Linked DNA regions of Homo sapiens: region 2 is linked to region 1. Evidence: promoter capture Hi-C in 16 types of primary human blood cells and fetal thymus (Javierre and others, 2016). All regions are on one chromosome and are shown on one strand. The core of a region is centred on a gene start or on the middle of the fragment in contact, and the rest is flanking DNA. Distances in the headings are between cores, read along the strand shown. Region 1 holds the start of MAB21L4 (mab-21 like 4). Region 2 holds the start of BOK (BCL2 family apoptosis regulator BOK).

Region 1 (4,603 bases), core at 875-3,374:
CCTCTCTCTCCCACAGGTCCAGCTTCCCGGGGACCTTTGCTTGTCCACAGTTCCCTGGTGTACTCCACATGCTCCTGTGTGCCTGGCATCGTGCCTGGCTCTAGGGTACACTGAGGAGTGTGACACCGTTCCAGCCATAGGGAGCTCACCATGTCATTCACCACCTGCCAGAAGGGCCAAGGGGCAAGGATGGGGCCTGGCCCATCAGAGGCTCTGACCTCAGCTGGGGCACAGGTGGAGAGAGTGGGGTCCCTTGGGGCAACCAGCTGGATTCAGCTCAGGAACTGGTGGGAGCCAGGAGGCCAGAGCCAGCGAAGGACAGGACAGGGTGTCAGCCAGGTGGAATCCCCTGCTGAAGAGAGGAAAGGGGGGACATGGTCTTGTGCTCTTGGTGTTGACAGCAGTGGAGAGGGGGCTTTAGGGGCAAAGGAGGATGCAAAGCCTGGGGGCCGCTCCCGAGGGAGAAGGGCCCTGCTCTGTGGCCACTGGAGGGAGCAGCTTGGGGGCTGAGAAGCCGAGCCCCTCCCATGGCTCAGAGCCCCTGGGCACTTTGGGTAGATTGGGGTGTGGTTGGGGGTCTCCTGGGCGAATTCAGAACACCGGGAGGTTCCTGGGAAGGAGGAGCTGGGACACTGAAGGTGTCATCAAATCACAGATGTTGAAGCCAAGGCCCAGAACAGGCAGATGAGCTCCCTGGGCCACTGCGGCCGAGGGTGAGGGGTAGGACCCCAGCTGCCCTGCAGCAGCGTCCACCTCCCCCAGGCCAGAGTCCTGTGGAGATGGAGGAGTGTGGCACACGGCTGTGTGTGGGGACCTAGGCAGGCCGTGGGTGAGGGCCCAGGACAAATGGGGCCTTGAACCTGAATGGCTGCCCTCGGGGAGGGGGACACGTGCTCTAAGCAACTCCAGGGAACAGGAGTGGGCCAGCTTGGAGGAGGGATATCTGTCTCTCGCTTGACCGTGGGCTACCCTGTGAGGTGGTGAGCTCCCTGTCCTGGGAGGCATGGAAGCAGAGACCCGCTCACTGGGCTGCAGCCCCTCATAGGGGCTTCCAAGCACCAGGAAGTGAGTGGCTGTTGCCCCCTGCCCCACCCCTCCTGGGATCCTGGTTCTGCCCACAGCTCTGACTCAGATGCAGCTCCCCGGGGGGTGAGAGGCCCACGTGCGGTGGCTACAGGGGCAGCATCTCCACGACGCCCCTGTGGGGCCATCTCCATGTTCACTGTTTGCAGACACCCCTGTGGCTGAGCACCCGATGCACTCGGCCAGCTGGCAGGGCCAAGGGTCGATGGGGCGGCTCCCTGCTGGTTGGGACTTGCACGGCCCTGAGCAGGGGAGGGGGGCGGGGCTGGCAGGGTACCTGGTGCAGGTGCTGGAGGGGGATGGTGGGGCGAGTTTCTCCACCTGGGTGAGGTGGAGCCACGGAGACTGCTTTTCTCCAGAACCAGACGAGCTCCAGCTCCCAGGCTAGGTGGGTGCCAGCTCCTCTCAGGTTGGAGGCTGGGCAGGGTGGGGTGGGGTGGGGTGGGGACTGGTAGCCCAGGGGTCCAGGGCCCAGATGGCTGGATGCACAGCTGGGGCAGAGGCAGGAGCCATGCCAGGACTGCAGCCTGTAAGCCGGGCACAGGTGTCTGAGGGGAACATTGCAGAGACGCAGCCTCCAGGTTCCCAGCCTTCCAGGCAGCCTTAGAGAGTCGGGGGCTCCCCCACAGCGGGGTCTGGGCAGCCACCGCCCTGCCTCCCCTTCCTCACTGAGCCACGGGGTGCCTTGTGTTCCCTCCAACCTGGCAGGGAGGCTGGGGCAGGGGGGCCTGATCCAGATACCCGGCCCCTGGGCTGTGGGGAGGAGGGTGGAAGGAGGCCCATCAGCAACACACAGAGGCTCCCATCCCAGGGACGGCACAGTCCAGCGGCAATATTTCTCCAGGGACCCCAAGCCTGGCTGGGACAGGGGCCGTGCCTTGGGCCTAAGATGAGAGAGCTCTTCTGAAGGGAGGGAGGAGGGTGGTAACCAAACCCAGCCCCCGCCTGCCCTGCATGGCCCCTGTGACATTCCCAATTGCTGGGGACTGACTCACCCCCACTTCAAAGGCCTTAAATAGTTCAGCTATTTCACCTGCCACACTGTGCTGTCACTCTGGAATTCTGCTGTGTGGGAGCTGAGGCCCCACCTGCAGACCTGCTGCTCACCTGGGCAGGTGCCTCCTCACAGCCCATCTGCACAGCTGGCCTGCGGAGTCCTCCTCAGGGGCCACTGGCCCTCACCTGCCACTGTTGAAGGGATGCCTGCCCCTGCTCTCCCCACCTCAGCCATGGCCGTGCAGGTGCCCCTGTGGCACCACTACCTGCAGGCCATCCGGTCCCGGGAGGCGCCGCGTGCCCAGGACTTCCAGCGCGCAGAGAACGTGCTGCTCACGGTGCTGGAGCGCGTGCATGCCCTGGACCCCCGCTTCATCGTGGACTACTCCCGTGGCCTGGAGGCCTTCCAGTTCGCCCTGCGCTCCTCTGAGGACCCAATGGACATGGAGGTGCCCCTGTGGGTGGATGCCGAGGCTCTACTGATTGAGGAACCAGAGGCCACCCAGCCGGAGGATGGCCTTGAATTATGCCACCTGGGTGTGCCCAGGGAAGGGGCTGGCCTGGAGCGGTGGACCACCGAGGATACCTTCACTGCCTCCTCGGAGGGTGACGCCAAGTGCCGTGGACACATTGTGCCCAGCAAGGTCCTGTGTGTCCTCAAGGACCTGCTGGTAGCAGCCATCGTACACTGCAAGCACCACAGTCTCATCGCACCAGGTACAGGCACAGCCCACTCTGCACGCGTATCTGCGTGTACCGAGGGGCTGCTGTGTGGGTGTCTGTGTGCAAGTGTGTGAGTGCACATGTGTGTGATTGCCATGTACGTGCACACAGGGTGGCGACTGTCTTCTGTGTGTGACTGCACGCACAGGCATGTGTGCACGTGTGTGACACTGTGCAAGTGTGAACAGTGTGTTGGGGCACAGAAGTCGGGAGACCTCACTTAGGTCTTCCAGCTCCAAATGCCTGTAACAAGACAGATGACGTGTTCCGTGTCGTGTGTGTTTGCACGGGGGTTCCACGGCTGCCAGTCGTCCAGTGGCTGGAGTCTGGGGCAGCTGCTTCACTGGTGGCCTTGCAGGAGGGTCCCTCACACGGCTCTGGGCAGGCGGCTCTCTTGCCAGTCACAGCCTGTGACCTCGAGGCTCCCCGAGGCCATCCCGTGCCCACTTCCAGTGTCTGATGATGTTGCACCAGGTGGGAGGGGTGTGTGTGTGCCTGCCTGCGTGCGCGTGAGTGCAGGGGTGTGAATGCGTGTGCAGGTGTGTGCCCGTGTCTTATCAGCTTATGGCTGAGTTGTCTATTGGTGTCTTGAGCCCCAAGTGGGCTCTGAGGCTGGGCTTCTGCGTGGACCAGGGGCTGGCCTCAGTCTCTCCTCTGGGGCCTTTTGTTTGTTTGTTTGTGAGACTGAGTCTCACTCTGTCACCCAGGCTGGAGTGCAATGGCACGATCTTGGCTCACTCCGCCTCCTGGGTTCAAGCGATTCTCCTGCCTCAGAATCCTGAGTAGCTGGGATTACAGGCATGGGCTACCACGCCTAGCTAATTTTTGTATTTTTAGTAGAGACAGGGTTTCACCATGTTGGCCAGGCTGGTCTCGAACTTCTGACTTCAGATGATCCGCCCACCTGGGCCTCTCAAAGTGCTGGGATTACAGGTGTGAGCCACAGCACCAGGCCCACCTTTGGGGCCTTGTTGATATGGTCCAGGGTGAGTCTGAGCCCAGGGCTCCTTCAGCAGGGGCTGCCTGGACGGCGACGGTCGCTGGGAGGACAGGGCTCAGCCTGTGCAGGGGCCAGGATGATGGGGACCCTGAGTGGTACAGCCATCCTCCAGGGGGTCAGGTTGTCCTGGAAGGGAACTGGGGACTGGAACAGAATTTGTCACATGTGAGTCACCACAGTCCTCACAGGGCTTTGTTGCCTCGAGTCACCTCCCTAGTATTCATCTGACCCTCATGTCCTCCGTGAGGTCAGCGGGTGGGGTCAGCTCACCTTCGCGAGAGGCCATGATCTGCTTGGGGATGCCCGGCGCTGGGGCCTGCCTGGAGGCAGGGGCACCTCCTGTGGGTTCTGGGGAAGGGTGTGCTGCCACCGCCGCACATAGCCAGGCCTCCAGTCTGCATGCTGGGAGGCCAGGAGGGTGGATTCTAACAGAAGCCCTCCCCAGACCTGTCTAGTGCCCTGGGGTAAGTGACTGACCTGACCTCTGGGGTGTCAGCTTCTGGTGCTCCCAGCCAGCCCTCACCCTGCCCCCAGCCCCTCGGGCTTCCTGCTCCAGCATCTTCTGAACCTCTAATCATGCAGGCCATGGGGTGGGTATTTCTATCTTCTTCCCGACCTCACTTGGCCCTGTCCCCACCTGTGAGACAGGCCCACCCATTGGGGTGAGCAGGAGGCCGTGCCAGGCCCTGAGTCATTCGGATTTGCTCTAAGCCGCCAGGCTCCTCACGCCCCCAGAGTGCCTCCTGAGAAAGCAGACTCGATACTGCAGGCCGCGCCCACAGCCCCTGAAGCTGCGCTGGG
Region 2 (4,603 bases), core at 715-3,214, 660 kb before region 1:
AGCTCCCACCCAGAGACCTCTCCCTCCTTCTGAACTTCTCAGATGGGACTCCACCTCCTCCTGGAGGCTCTGTGCTGGTCCCCATGGATTCTGTCTGCACCCCACACACACTCCTGGGCAGGCCAGGTCTACACAGCTTTGCTCTCTGGGCCCAGCCCACCACGTAAGGGCAGGGGCCACCTAGAGCCCATGCCAGCGCCAGCCTGAGAGGAGGCAGCGTGTCCCCTCACGGGGTCGTGCCCTCCGACTCCAACCCCCTGCCTGGAGAGCCACCGATTCAGTTTCACCTATGCTGTCACCTCCCCTTCCCGGGCTCAGCCACAGGCGCCCCATGTGCCCTCTTCGGGCATCACATAAACATTCCCAGGTGACGGCCACAGCCCAGCTGTGGTGAGGGGACTGGACAGTCACAGTGGGGCTGGTCCCTCCCTCTTGGGTCCAGACCTTGGAGACGGTGGGGGCAGCCAGTGGACCGTGTGTGACCCCAGAACCGAGCACCCCCAGATGTCCTCACAGCACCAACGAATACTGAGGTTTTGGCTACCCAGCCCGGTGGGCGCAGTTTCCAATGGGGGGGCCTCGGAGGCCTCGGAATCCAGAGGGCAGCGGGCGGGATCTCGGCCAGTAACAGCAAGAATCTGTTTTCCAAAATAAACATCGGGACACGTGCTCCTACAAAGGGTTTCTGTGCCCAGCTGAGAACAAGGGTCACTGTGGAAGCTTAGCCACCCACTAATAGATTATTCTTTCTGGAGCTTTCTATTGTTTATGGCCAGCATGACTGAAATCTGGGCTGAGCAGGCAGCTGATGGGGGGGCCTGTGGCGTGGGAGGCCTGAGAGGGCAGATCCGGGAGCACCCGCCTGGGTGGCCCTGTCCCGAGCGCCTGGCCGTCCCAGGCAGGGGGTGGGCGCCCCTGGGCCGGACCCCCATCTCGGCCTCGGAGGGAGGCTGCGGCCCAGCAGGGGAGGAGGCGCAGCTGGGGATCCCACCAGGGCGCACTCACCCAGGCGCAGCAGCACCGCGCACACCTCAGCCAGGCGTCCCGGGACCGGCGCGGCACGCTCGGGCGCGCTCCAGGAGAGGCCGGCGCGCAGCAGCCGCGCGTGCACGTACTCCCGGCCCAGCGCCTTGGCCTGGGCCACCAGCTCCTTGTCTGTGGGCGAGCGGTCAAAGGCGTCCATGATCTCGGCGGCGAAGACCGAGGAGCGCCGCAGCACCTCCATGGCGGCGACGCGGGTGGGGGGCGCCGCACCTGCGGGCACAAGCGCTCAGCCGGGTGGAGGGAGGCGGCGCGGGGAACGGGGCGCGCGGGGCGCCGGGCTGGGCGTGGCCCTCGGGAAGGGCCGTAGCCGGCGCCGGGTCCGCTCTCGTTTTTTGTGCCCCAAATCTTTAAAAACCCAGCGCCACCTTCTTTCAGAGCCCGAATTCAGCTACAGACATTCCCCGAGGCTGCCAGGGACCGGTGGGGCCGCGGGGAGACGGCGGTTTGCTCCGGGGCCGCCGGGCCCGCCCTCGAAGACGAGTGCGTGGGCGGCGGGGGCGGAGGGCACAGCCCAGCGCGTCCCCCACGGCGACTGCCAGGACCCGGCCCTCCCCGCCCCGGCCCGGGGCCGCCCACCTCCGCCGCTGGCGTCCTGCGCGCGTGTCCCCGGCCTCGCCGTTCCCGTGGCACCCCGGGCACCCCGGCACGGACGCCACGCCCGCCGCGCTCACCTCTCCCGCCGCATGGCGCGGGCGCCGGGGTGGAGTTCTGGCTTCAGGATCTGCTCGCCGCCGACGACGACCTCGACCCTTCCATTCAGACCCGCGAGGACGCGCGCCCCGCCCCGGCGCCCGCCCCGTCCACGCCCGAGCCGGGAGCGCCAGGTCCACGGGGCTTCCCGCGCTCTTGGGGGGCTCCTGCCGCGGCGTCGGGGGCCTGGGCAGCGAGGTGGGCAGCGCGCGACTCCCAGCTGGCGAGAGGCTGGGCTTGGGGCTTGGCCTTCTAAGGGAAAGGCAACCCTGGGGGCGGAGTCGGGGAGACGCTTTCCGAGCTTCCCCGCTTAAGGAGGACCGAGCGAGTTCCCTGGATGCGCCCGGAGAAGGCGACCAGGCCGGAGCGGCCCCCGCAAGGCAGAGCAGTGGGGACCTAGAGCCAGCCCCAGCCGCCTGGGTGTTCCCCGGGGTCCATTTGAAAATTGGGTTGTCTTCTTCGTTCGTAGAGGTTCTTTCCAGAGTCTGGAGACGTGTTCTTGGTCCGGACGCATGCCCTTTGTATTGTAGATGGATTATTGGATTCGCATTTATTGAAGTTATTGCAAATATCTTCCTCTATTTTGTGGTTTACTTTTGCTTTGGATGAACAGGAGTTACTCTTAGTGATGTCCAATTTATCAATATTTTCTTTATGGTTAGTACCTTTTTATTGGGATATCCTCCTGTATTTCCTTTTAGAAGCTTGTTTTAGGGCTCATATTTAGATCTATGATTGATTACATATTAATTATTGTGAATGGTGTGGTACGGGGCTAGAGCTCATTTTTTTTCGTGTAGATATCCAATTGACCTGGCATCATTTATTGAAAAGCATCATTTTTTTTCCACCGAATTGGAGGAGTCCCCAACATCTCAACATAAATCAGCTGAAGAGTGTGTGTGTGTGTGTGTGTGTGTCTCGGAACTCTATCCCACTGGTTTATTTCTTTATCCTTGAATCAACCTCACACAGTTTGAACAATAGGATTAACCAACTTGGCCTAATTCACGTGTGTACAACACTATAAAATACTTATTCTTCCCATGTGCACATAGGATGTTTATCGAAATAGACCATATCATGGACCTTATACAAGTCTCAGCAAATCTCAACGGATTGAAATCTTACAGTGTGTCCTCTCTGAATTAAAAGTCAATAACAGAAAAATTACTGGAAAATCTGCAAATGCTTGGAAATTACATGTCACACTTCTAAATAATCAATGGGTCAATAATCACAGTGGAAGATTAAAATATGTTGACAAGAACAGTGAAAAATAAGACATATCAAATGCTGTACAGTGCAACTAAAACACTGCTTAGAGGAAATTTGATAGCTTTAGAAGAAGGATTGAAAATTAGGCCAGGTGAAATGACTCAGACCTGTAATCCCAGCATTTTGGGAGGCCTAGGTGGGCAGATCACCTGAGCTCAGGAGTTTGAGACCAGCCGGGTCAAAATGGTGAAAACCCCGTCTCTACTAGAGATACAAAAAATGAGTTGGGTGTGGTGGCAGGTGTCTGTAATCCCAGCTACTAAGGAGGCTGAGGCAGGAGAATTGCTTGAACCTGGGAGGCGAAGGTTGCAGTGAGCAGAGATCATCCCACCTGCACTCCAGCCTGGACAACAGAGTGTGATTCCATCTCAAAAAAAAAAAAAAAAAAGGAAAAAGAAAAATAAAATTACTGCTCTAAGCTTCCACTCAAGAAGCTAGAAAAGAACAATAAAACTAAAGATGAAAGGAAATAATAAAAATAAGAGCAGAAATTAATGGAATAAAGCAAAAAATAGAGAAAATCAACAAAGCCAAAAATTGGTTCTTTGAAGAGATTAATAGAACTGATAAATCCCCAGAAAGATTGAGTAAGAAAAAAGATAACACAAATTTCACTATCAAGAATGAAAAAGAGGACATCACTGTAGATACTACAAGCATTAAAGGGATAAAAAGATAGTATGGAGGACTTTTTGACAGTGCATTTGAAATTTTAGATGATACACAACTTACCAAAACTGACACTAAAAGAAATAGAAAATCTGGATAGTCCTACACCAATTAAATGCATTGAATCTGTAATTTAAAATCTTCCCACAAAGAAAATTCTAGGTTCAGATGGTTTCATTGAGAAATTCTTCTCAACAGTTAAAAAAATACCACCAGTCTCATACAAACCTGCACAGAGACTAAAAATGAGGGAGTATTTCCCAACTCATTTTATGAGGTCAATGTAATTTTAATACCGAAACCTGTCAGGAACATTACCAGAAGCTAGGAAAGCTATGGAACTTCTATCTGCTATGACTTTCCTGTCTGGGAAGTAGGAAGAATAATAATACCTACCTCCTAGGATTGTTGAGAGGACTGAATTCTTTTTTTTTTTTTTTTTTTTTGAGACGGAGTCTCGCTCTGTTGCCAGGCTGGAGTGCAATGGCGTAAACTCGGCTCACTGCAACCCCGCCTCCTGGGCTCCAGCGATTCTCCTGCCTCAGCCTCCCGAGTAGCTGGGACTACAGGCACCTGACACCACGCCCGGCTAATTGTTTGTATTTTTGGTAGAGAGGGGGTTTCACCATGTTGGCCAGGATGGTCTCGATCTCTTGACCTCGTGATCTACCTGCCTTGGCATCACAAAGTTCTGGGATTATAGGCGTAAGCCACAGCGCCCAGCCTGGGAGGACTGAATTCTTAATCCATGTCATGTAGTAAGTGCTCAGTCATTGTTAGCTGCTTTTTCAGAAAAGCTGTAGTACAGTAAAATCTGAGGGTGCATTTTAATGAACTCTTTAATGTAGAGTCTAGAGCTCCTTGGACAGTGTGCGCCTCAGATTTCTGAAGAGCAGTCAGGTTTGGGATTCCCTGTAGATAG

What was found. The method cuts DNA at HindIII sites, captures the fragments that hold promoters and counts their contacts. A CHiCAGO score of 5 or more calls a contact.
Region 2: a contact is called between the fragment with the promoter of BOK here and the fragment with the promoter of MAB21L4 in region 1, in 5 of 17 cell types (M0 macrophages, naive CD8 T cells, total CD8 T cells and 2 more). The highest score is 6.6, in M0 macrophages.

What each region holds. Positions count from the first base shown.
Region 1 is chr2:240,893,677-240,898,279 of GRCh38, reverse strand. It overlaps MAB21L4 (mab-21 like 4), which reads left to right and starts at 2,124. Exons shown (of 5, transcript NM_001085437.3): 1 at 2,124-2,796. The coding sequence starts at 2,283. RefSeq lists enhancers at 953-1,588, 2,861-3,496. The HindIII fragment of the contact is 9,523 bases long and covers 1-4,603 here.
Region 2 is chr2:241,556,106-241,560,708 of GRCh38, reverse strand. It overlaps BOK (BCL2 family apoptosis regulator BOK), which reads right to left and starts at 1,964. Exons shown (of 5, transcript NM_032515.5): 1 at 1,716-1,964; 2 at 1,006-1,254. The coding sequence starts at 1,225. It overlaps BOK-AS1 (BOK antisense RNA 1), which reads left to right and starts at 1,566. Exons shown (of 2, transcript NR_033346.1): 1 at 1,566-1,932. RefSeq lists silencers at 942-1,071, 1,122-1,191, 1,222-1,301. The HindIII fragment of the contact is 1,718 bases long and covers 723-2,440 here.